Regions from separate parts of the Homo sapiens genome. Here region 2 is linked to region 1. Evidence: promoter capture Hi-C in 16 types of primary human blood cells and fetal thymus (Javierre and others, 2016). All regions are on one chromosome and are shown on one strand. Each heading gives the region's core, a stretch centred on a gene start or on the middle of the fragment in contact. The rest is flanking DNA. Distances are from core to core; before and after follow the strand shown.

Region 1 (4,954 bases), core at 1,058-3,557:
TGTGGGCTATCAGATCCACTGTCATGGCATTGCAGGGCTTGTGTTCAAAGTAACCCTTATTGGGCCGGGCGCAGTGGCTCACGCCTGTAATCCCAGCACTTTGGGAGGCCTAGGTGGGCGGATCACTTGAGGTTAGGAGTTTGAGACCAGCCTGGCCAACATGGTGAAACCATGTCTCTGATAAAAATACAAGAAAAATTAGCTGGGTGTGGTGGTATGCACCTGTAGTCCAGCTACTCGGGAGGCTGAGATGGGAGAATTGCTTGAACCCAGGAGGCAGATGTTGCTGTGAGCCGAGATCATGCCATTGCACTCCAGCCTCGGTGACAGAGCGAGACTTCATCTCCAAAAAACAAAAATAAAGACAACCCCCCACCCAAAGTAACACTTATTTTACTAAATAATGCAAGAGTAGCGATGCTGGCAATTTGGAAGTGCCAAAAAGAAGCCATAAAATGTTTCCTTTAAATGAAAAGGTAATAGTTCTCAATAAGGAAAGAACAAAAAACATCATATACTGAGGTTGCTAAGATCTATGATAAGAATGCATCTTCTGTTCATGAAATTGTGAAGAAGGAAACAGAAATTTGTGTTAATTTTGCTGGTGTACCTCAAACTGCAAAATGCAGCCACAGTGCAGGATAAGTGCTAATGAAAATAGAAGGGGCTTCAATTTGTGGGTGGAAGACACGAACAGAAACATGCTCCAGCTGATGGCAGCCAGGTTCGGTACGATCCGAGGTTTTAAGGCATCCACTGCGGGTCCTGGAATGTATCCCCCGTTGGATAAGGGGGGGACTACTGTACATTTGGTCTCCAGAACTCTTGGGAGGCTGTGATGAGAAGGACGTACTGCCCTCACCCAGCCCACTTCACGTCACCCTCCTAAGGACCAGGCTTCACAGGTGATAGGAGAATTTCTGCAGTCTGGGAGGCAGCTGCCCAAGGTGCTGAGTTTGCGTGTGAAGCTGGTTTCTCAGCGAGATCCACGCTGGAGTTGGCTGCACAACTTTCCTGCCTGAGTGAGATGGATCCCCTAGGGTCAGGGGTCAGACATGGAAACCTTGGCTTCTGGGAGAGGGTAGCAGAACAGAGTTCAAAGGCACTGGTTTATGGCATCTCATAAAAACTCCAGGTGGGCCGGGTGCAGTGGCTCACGCCTGTAATCCCAGCACTTTGGGAGGCCGAGGTGGGCGGATCACGAGGTCAAGAGTTCAAGACCAGCCTGGCCGACATGGTGAAACCCCGTCTCTACTAAAAATACAAAAATTAGCTGGGCGTGGTGGTGTGCGGCTGTAATCCCAGCTACTCGGGAGGCTGAGGCAGGAGAATCACTTGAACCCAGGAGGCGGAGGATGCAGTGAGATGAGATCACGCCACTGCACTCCAGCCTGGGCGACAGAGACAGACTCCATCTCAGCAAAAAAAACGAAAACAAAAAAAACACTCCAGGTGGAGCCAGTGCCCCTAAGGGTGGAGAGGAGGAGCAGTTGTGCTCACTGGGGCCCTTGCTAAGTGAGGGTCATGCTGAGAAGAGACCTCTAGGAGACCTCTAAGAGACCTCCCATCTGTTCTGGAGGGGCCCTGAGTATAAGTCCCTGCATTCCTGGGTTTGGGGCTTCTGCAACCCTAGAGTCCTGCCTCTCTTTCTCCATGAACCATTCACCCCAGGGCAGGTGGGAGGACAGCTGAGCCTCCTTCTCTTGGTTGGTAGGAGGAAAGGTTCAGGCGCCGCTGACCCTACCTGGACAGTGCTGTCTGCCTGTGGTGAGGGCCTGGGCCCTGGGCAGAAAAGCACCCCATCCCTTGCTCACTCAGAAGCCAAGGGAGGGGCTGGGCGCCGGGCCTCACACCTGTAATCCCAGCACTTTGGGAGGTCGAGGCAGGTGGATCATTTGAGGTCAGGAGTTCAAGTCCAGCCTGGCCAACATGGTGAAACCCTGTCTCTGCTAAATATACAAAAATTAGCCAGGCATGGTGGCACATGTCTGTAGTCCCAGTTACTTGGGAAGCTGAGGCAGGAGAATCACTTGAACTTGGGAGGCGGAGGTTGCAGTGAGTCGAATTCATACCACTGCACTCCAGCCTGAATGACAGAGTGAGGCTCAAAAAAAAAAAAAAGCCAAGGGTGGGGCACATCAGCTCTCATTGTCAGGCTGTGGAGGGCTCTGGGCTCCCAGGGACCTGGCAGCACCTGCCTCCCCACCCCCTCACCTCTCTGGGGCCCTATCTTCCCTTATATGGTGAAGGCAGTTCCTAGAGGAGGGGGGGTGGGGACAAAGGTCGCTCTTCTGCAGCCAGCTTGCCACAATTCCCTGAGATCTCCCAGGTGGCAGCTGCCTCCCCAAGACAGGTAAGGCAACCTGGTGGGAACACATGGAGACCTTAGGTGGTGCGAGGGGACGGGGTCCTCTGCTTTTCTCGGGCAACTTGGGGCCTCCTGGAGCACCTTGGTACGGGCTCGAAGGGGAGGCTTGACACTCTGGATAGCGTGAGAAGTGCTGGGAGCCCAGTGTGTCTGCCCTGGGCCTCCAGGGAGAGACTTTTGCAGGCCCTGCCCCAGACAATGGCTCTCTCAGTCTCCTACCTGTGGCTAGCCCCATCCCACTTTGGGTGTCACCATCCCAATTGCCCTGGAACTTCTAGAGTTAAAACCAGGACAGTGCTGGGCAGACCGGGACTAGTTGGTCTCCCTGACCTCACTCCCCGAGCCCCCTCCCCACCAGCTCATCTCTTTGCCCGTGCGTTCTTCATCTGAAGTGTTTTTTTCTTTGTGTCACCATTCCTCTGACACTCCTGGGACCTCCGGGTCCTGCCTCCTGGCTCCTAGCATATGAGCAACAGCCACCAGCAATTGAATGGGCACACACAGAGGCAAGGGCAGAGGCAAGGGGCTGGAGGTGGCAGGGCCTTAGGTCCTGGGCCATGCCGGGCCACCCTAGCATGCACCTCTGCCCCATCTCCCCTCTACCCGGAGCTGCCCCATTGGCCTCCCCAGCCACTGTGGGCCCATTCAGCAGAACTAGGAATGGGAGCTAGCTGCAGACCAGGCTCTGAGGACACACTGGCTGCTGTCTTCTCGGGACATCATCTGCTGGGGCAGAGCCTTTGGGCTGGAGGGTCTTGGCGGGTGTCCATTCCCTCTTCTATCATGAGCCTGGGAAGCAGGAGGATGTCCTTTGTCTGAGGGGTGGGACTTCACCCCCACTGCCCCACCACATTCCTGTCCAGCTCAGAGCTGCACGACTGGGAACTAGGAGCCGTGGCAGCACCCCACTTACAACAGAGCCGCAACTCAAGTACAACAGGGCTCAGATAAGAAAGGCATGGTGGGCCAGGTGCAGAGCCTCATGCTTGGAATCCCAGCACTTTGGGAGGCCAAGTGGGGTGGATCACTTGAGGTCAGGACTTCAAGACCAGCCTGACCAACATAGTGAAACCCCGTTTCTACTAAAAATACATAATTAGCTGGGTGTGCTCGCGCACGCCTATAGTCCCAGCTACTCGGGAGGCTGAGGCACGAGAATCGCTTGAACCCAGGAGGCGGAGATGACAGTGAGCCAGAATTGCACCATTGCACTCCAGCCTGGGTGACAGAGTGAGACTCTGTCTCAAAAAAAAAAAAAAAAAAAGAAAAGAAAAAAAGAAAAAAGAAAGAAAGGCAAGATGGACCTGCAGACAGTGGGAGCCCAAACCCCTCCAGTGCCCTGGGAGGGTCCTCCTTCCATCCCACAGTTCAGCCTTTCAGCATCATGAGTATTTGTTTTTTTTTTTTTTGTTTTTTTTTTGAGAAGGAGTCTCACTCTTTCATCCAGGCTGGAGTGCAGTGGCGTGATCTCAGCTCACTGCAGGCTCCACCCCCTGGGTTCACGCCATTCTCCTGCCTCAGCCTCCCGCGTAGCTGGGACTACAGGCGCCCACCATCTCGCCCGGCTAATTTTTTGTATTTTTAGTAGAGACAGGGTTTCACCGTGTTAGCCAGGATGGTCTTGATCTCCTGACCTCGTGATCCGCCTGCCTCGGCCTCCCAAAGTGCTGGGATTACACGCGTGAGCCACCACGCCCAGCCCATGAGTATTTGTTGAGCACCTACTATGTGCTAGGAGCTGGGGGCTGCAAAGACAAACATATCTAGGTCTTGGAGCTCAGGGACCTCCAACTTACAAACAGGTTATTTCATCACCATGTGGTCAGGGGGCCAAGAGAAGGGACAGTCCAGGATGCAGAGGGGCCCCTTGTCCAGCTGAGGATTCTAGGAAGGTCTCCTGGAAGAAATGAGATCTAAATTGAGTCTAGAAGAGCATGTTAGTGTCAGAAAGGTGGGGAGAGCTTTCCATATTGGAGCAGTGCAAGCAGGCGTGGGGTGAGAGGCAGCATGGGGGTGGGGCCGCCAGCAGTGTGGCATTTCTAGAGGGCAGAGTGCCAGCAGAGAGGGGCCAGGGGGCTGTGTGTAGTGGGGAGACTCAAGGGAGTTTAGGTGGATGGAAGGGCAGGAGCAGAAAGAGTCCAGGATGCTGCACAGATGGCTGACTTTGGGGTCTTGGGGTGACCATGCCCTTCCCTGGTCTGGGGACACAGAAGAGAAAGTACCAGGAGTGGAGGAAGCCAGTGAATTAAAACTGAAGGAGGAGACAACTCAAATCCAAACCAGAGTCCACGGTGGCAGGGCTGGGGGAAGTGACGGGCCCTGGTCTTCCTGGAAGTTCAGGGAAGACAGGAGAAGTGAGGAGGAGGCCCTACCAAGGGGTGGAGGAGAGGCATCTGCTCTGACCAACATGGGTAGAGGGCAGGAGCATCTGGAGGGTATACACCAGGTAGGGGGGCCACATCTCAGAGCTTCCACTCCTGAGTCCCCTTGCCCACCTTTGGCCTGTGGGGGCTGGCCCCAATCCTGATTTCTCTCTGGGGAGGGGGAGCGCTGGCTTTTTCAAGTCTCTGCTCCCCTGAATCCCCT
Region 2 (4,579 bases), core at 526-3,025, 260 kb before region 1:
GCAGGTACAGCCATAAAGCCACCCCTGAATAGACTTCTTCATAATCCAGGGCACATGCAAGACTCCCATGAAACAAAAAAATGCCTTCAAAAGATGAATTAACAATAAAATGTTACAAAGAGCTGACAATCATCACAATCAACAGTCAGTCAACAGCAAATGGGAGAATTCACACCTGAGGAGCTAAAGATAATAAAGCAATTTGGATCTGACTTTAAAATAAGTATATTTTTTGCCACGCACAGTGACTCACACCTATAATCCCAACACTTCGAGAGGCAGAGGTGGGAGAATCACTTGAGGCCAGGGGATCAAGACCAGCCTGGGAAACATAGTGAGACTCCATCTCTCCAAAAAATATTTTAAACATTAGCCAGAGATGGTGTTGCGTGCCTGTAGTCCGAGCTACCTGGGGGCTAAGGAAGGAGGATTTTTTTTTTGAGACAAGGTCTCACTCTGTTGCCCAGGCTGGAAGGCAGTGGTGCAATCTTGGCTCACTGCAACCTCTGCCTCCCAGGATCAAACAATCCTCCCACCTTAGCCCCCAGAGTAGGTGCATTCCACCATGCCCAGCTAATTTTGTGCATGTGTGTATTTTTTTGTGGAGATGGGGTTTCACCATGTTGCCCGGGCTGGCCTTGAACTCCTTGACTCAAATGATCCTCCCGCCCTGGATTCCCAAAGGGCAGGAATTATAGGCGTGAGCCACCGCACCCAGCCCCTAAATTTTTTTTTTTAAATAGGTCAAGCTTGGTGGCTCATGCCTGAAATTCCGGAAATTTGGGAGGCCAAGGAAGAAGGACTGCTTGAGCCTAGGAGTTCAAGACGAGCCTGGGCAACATAGTAAGATTCTGTCTCTACAAATTTTTTTTTAATTAGCCAAAGGTGGTGTTGCATGCCTGTAGCCCCAGCTACTCAGGAGGCTGAGGCAGGAGGATTTTTTAATTTTTTTTTTTTAAATAGGCAGGGTGCAGTGACTCAACCTGTAATCCTAGCACTTTGGAAGACAAGGAGAGGGGATCACTTGGGCCCAGGAGTTGGAGACCAGCCTGGGTGACATAGGGAGACCCCGACTCTATTTAAAAATTTAAAACTAGCCAGGCAGGCATGGTGGCACACACCTGTAGTCCCAGCTACTTAATAGGCTGAGGTAGGAGGATTCCTTGAGCCTGGGAGGTCAAGGCTGCAGTGAGCTGAGATTGGGCCACTGCATTCCAGCATAGGTGATACAGTGAGATCCTGTCTCAAAAATAAAATAAAATAGAATAATTCTTTTAAAAAAATTAAAGAATAAGGAAAACGAAGGGTGGAACACTGTCAAAGAACTAATACCAGATAAATTTACATAACCTAAATTTCCAGATTAAGAAAATTTACCAGGCGCCCAGCACAATGAATGAAGAAAAACACCACCAAGGTACACATCATGCATTCTAAAACTAAAAAGAAGATTTAAATTCTGAAATGATGGCATACAGTTAAAATCCAAAGCAATCTTTAAAAAAATCTACTAGAACCAATAAATGAATTTACTTAGGTCCCAAGTTACAAGGTCAATATACATACTGCAACTGTATTTCTATATACTATGGTAACCAAAAAAAGAACTGGAAAATGAAAACTTTTTAAGATATCATTTGTAATCGCATCCAAAAAACCCATAAAATACTTAGGGACAAATTTTGCAAAGTATGTACAAGATTTGTGTACCAAGAACTATAAAACATCCTTTGCAAAAAAATTAAAGAAGACATAAATAGAGAAAGATATCGTGCCCATGGACTGGAAGACTCAATATGACAATGTCAATTTTCTCTAAATTGATCTATGAATTCTACATAATCCAAATCAAAATCCCAGCTGGACATTATATAGAAATTGATAAGCAGATTCTAAAATTTCTCTGGAAACATAGTCAAAGCAATTTAGTAAAGAGGAACTGGCCCCTTTCCTAAGAGTCACCTGTCCAGGTTGGAAGAAGACAATGAAGGACTCCCGGAGAGAGGTCTTTGAGAAAGAAAAATTAATAGATTATCCGCTGAGTGTGAATGTATTGAGGGAGACATTGGAACTGATGTCATGATAAGTACATGGAACATCCTCTCATCAATTCCAGGGAAAACAAAACTTGTACAAAAAAAATTGGATCCTACTGTGAATAATTTTTTACATAGTCATAATAACAAAAAAATTGAATGTCGACTTAACCAAAAAATGTGGCATCTGTTTCTGGAGAATGGAGAAGGCAGTATTTGTGTTTGCTTGGATTGGGGTGAAAGCAGGAGAGGGACTGGGAGAATATTACATTCTCAAAGCCAAAAGAGAGAGTCAGTGATGATAGCTAAACCTGGAGGGGGAGAAAAACAAGAACTAGCAGAGGGCTGGTCACAGTGGCTCACACTTGTAATCCCAGCACTTTGGGAGGCTGAGGTGGGGGGATCACTTGAGGTCAGGAGTTCAAGTGATGAACTGGCCTGGCCAACATGGTGAAACCCTGTCTCTACCAAAAAATGCAATAATTAGCCAGGCGTAATGGCGGGCACCTATAGTCCCAGCTACTCAGGAGGCTGAGGTGGGAGAATGACTTAAACCAGGGAGGCGGAGGTTGCAGTGAGCTGAGATCATGCCACTGCACTCCAGCCTGGGAGACTGAGTGAGACCAAAAAAAAGAAAAAAACTAGCAGAACAAGTATGATATTTAGAAATATATAGATCACTATCCGATGAAACAGCTATGAGAGCTGACAGCTGCTGCCCTTGTCTGCAGGGATTGGAGCTGGAAGGCTGCTGGTTTTTTGTTATAAGCTTCATAAAGCCATTTCGTTTTTTCAACAATGTGTATAAAATACTTAGACAATAGAAAGAAAATTTAATCTTAAAAAGTCGAGTTAACATATTTCGATTATTTTTTATTTATTATGTCTTTGATTCATTTCTACCCTGAAGGTTGGAAGGAAGACTTTGGATTTAAAAACTGAATACCAGGCTGCAAGAAAACATTGGTGCTGAGAGCTCCGCCGTTAGCTCCTTGTGGCTTTCTGGGTGGAACCTAGAGTGGCCTCTCTGACCTCTGCATGGAAACGGCAAAAGACAGGGCTCCACCACTGTCTCTTGGTGAGTGGTCTTCTCTAGGAAGGCACCTCTTTGGGACGATCCTTAGACCAAAGAGGAGATTGTCATGTTACTCATTTGCATCTATGAGATTTTTCAGTCTCTGAAAGACTCTTATTAAAATACTACTTTGCTGAGAAAGGGGCAAATTTTACCTCTATGGCATAAAATGTTGATTGTCAATTAGTATTTTTGCTGGAATTAACAAGAATGGGCCAGGGGATGGAGGGCAAGGGGTGGTGAGAGGCTGTGGTTGGTCAGAAGTGGAACTGGTTTAGGGGAAAACAGTAGATTTTCACATTTTGATTTAGAGTCTCAAACGTTGTCACCAAGGCTACAAAACAAACTTTAGGATTTTAACATCAGGAAGCATTGTGCAGAACATGCCGTTACATCCTAATCCCCGTCCCTCACCTTACCCTGATGTACATCCCCTCTGTAATCCCAATCTCATCACTGACCCCTCCCATTTCTGACCCCCACTCCTGTCCTAAGATTCACCCCATCCCTAGTGCCAGCCCCATCCTGGACAAGGGAGTCCCTCCTTAAGGCAAACACTCTCCCTGGCTCTGACTGGATCTAATCCTCACCCTATCTAGTAATTGAAATATCAGTTTTTGGTACTTCAATATGCTGTTAACTAAGTACCAAAATCCTGACATTTTTTAAAAATCTGAAATCCAAATCATTTGTGTCTTGAGCTATACCCAGAAAATTACAGGCTGCATTAGAATTTCCAATCAGCCTGGGTGCAGTGGCTCACACCTGTAATCCCAGCACTTTAGGAGGCCGAAGCAGGCAGATCACTTGAGCTCAGGGGTCCAAGACCAGCCTGGGCAACGTGGCAAGACTCCATATCTACAAAAAATTTTAAAAATTATCTGGGCATAATGGCGCACAGCTCTGGTCCCAGCTACTCTGGAAACTGAGGTTGGAGGATCACCTGAACTCAGAAGGTTGAGGCTGCAGTGAGCTGTGTATGCACCACTGCACTCCAGCCTGGGTGACAGAGCAAGACCCTGTCTCATTAAAAAAAAAAAAAAAATCCAATCGAAAAATGTTGCACTTGTTTGAAGAGTCCACTATATCCCTCCCCTGTTTAAAACACTTCTGAGTTATTTTGTTGCTGTTTGAGCCTCATTTAGTTCCTAGTGAGACTGAGCATTTTTCATGAGGTTATGAGTCATTTGCATTTCCCCTGGACCCAGTGTGGATCCCTATTTACTTACTGAAGCCTCTGATGGAGTTGTCCTTGCAGGAGCATAAGGTGAAGAAGGAGGAAGTTGGACTTTGAGGAAACAGTAGGAGAGGTGGAGGGAGATCAGCGGAGGGAGGAGAGGAAAAGGAGGCCCCAGTTCTCAGCCTTCTGCCCTAGATTCTCTGTGCATCCTTTGCATCCTTCTTGTCTTCTCTGCTGAATCAGGTCTATCTCTTAGGGCTCGAGTGCCTAACTCCCTCCTCACTCACC

The links. Contacts are between HindIII fragments. The CHiCAGO score rates a contact against its expected background, and 5 or more counts as called.
Region 2: a fragment that was not itself captured here is called in contact with the fragment with the promoter of VIL1 in region 1 in 1 of 17 cell types (neutrophils); the score reaches 5.1 in neutrophils.

The regions. Positions count from the first base shown.
Region 1 is chr2:218,416,816-218,421,769 of GRCh38, forward strand. VIL1 (villin 1) reads left to right here and starts at 2,308. Exons shown (of 20, transcript NM_007127.3): 1 at 2,308-2,353. The HindIII fragment of the contact is 19,335 bases long and covers 1-4,954 here.
Region 2 is chr2:218,157,527-218,162,105 of GRCh38, forward strand. No RefSeq gene overlaps it. Among named protein-coding and RNA genes, the nearest start is that of CXCR1, 7.1 kb to the right of the region's middle. The HindIII fragment of the contact is 2,056 bases long and covers 748-2,803 here.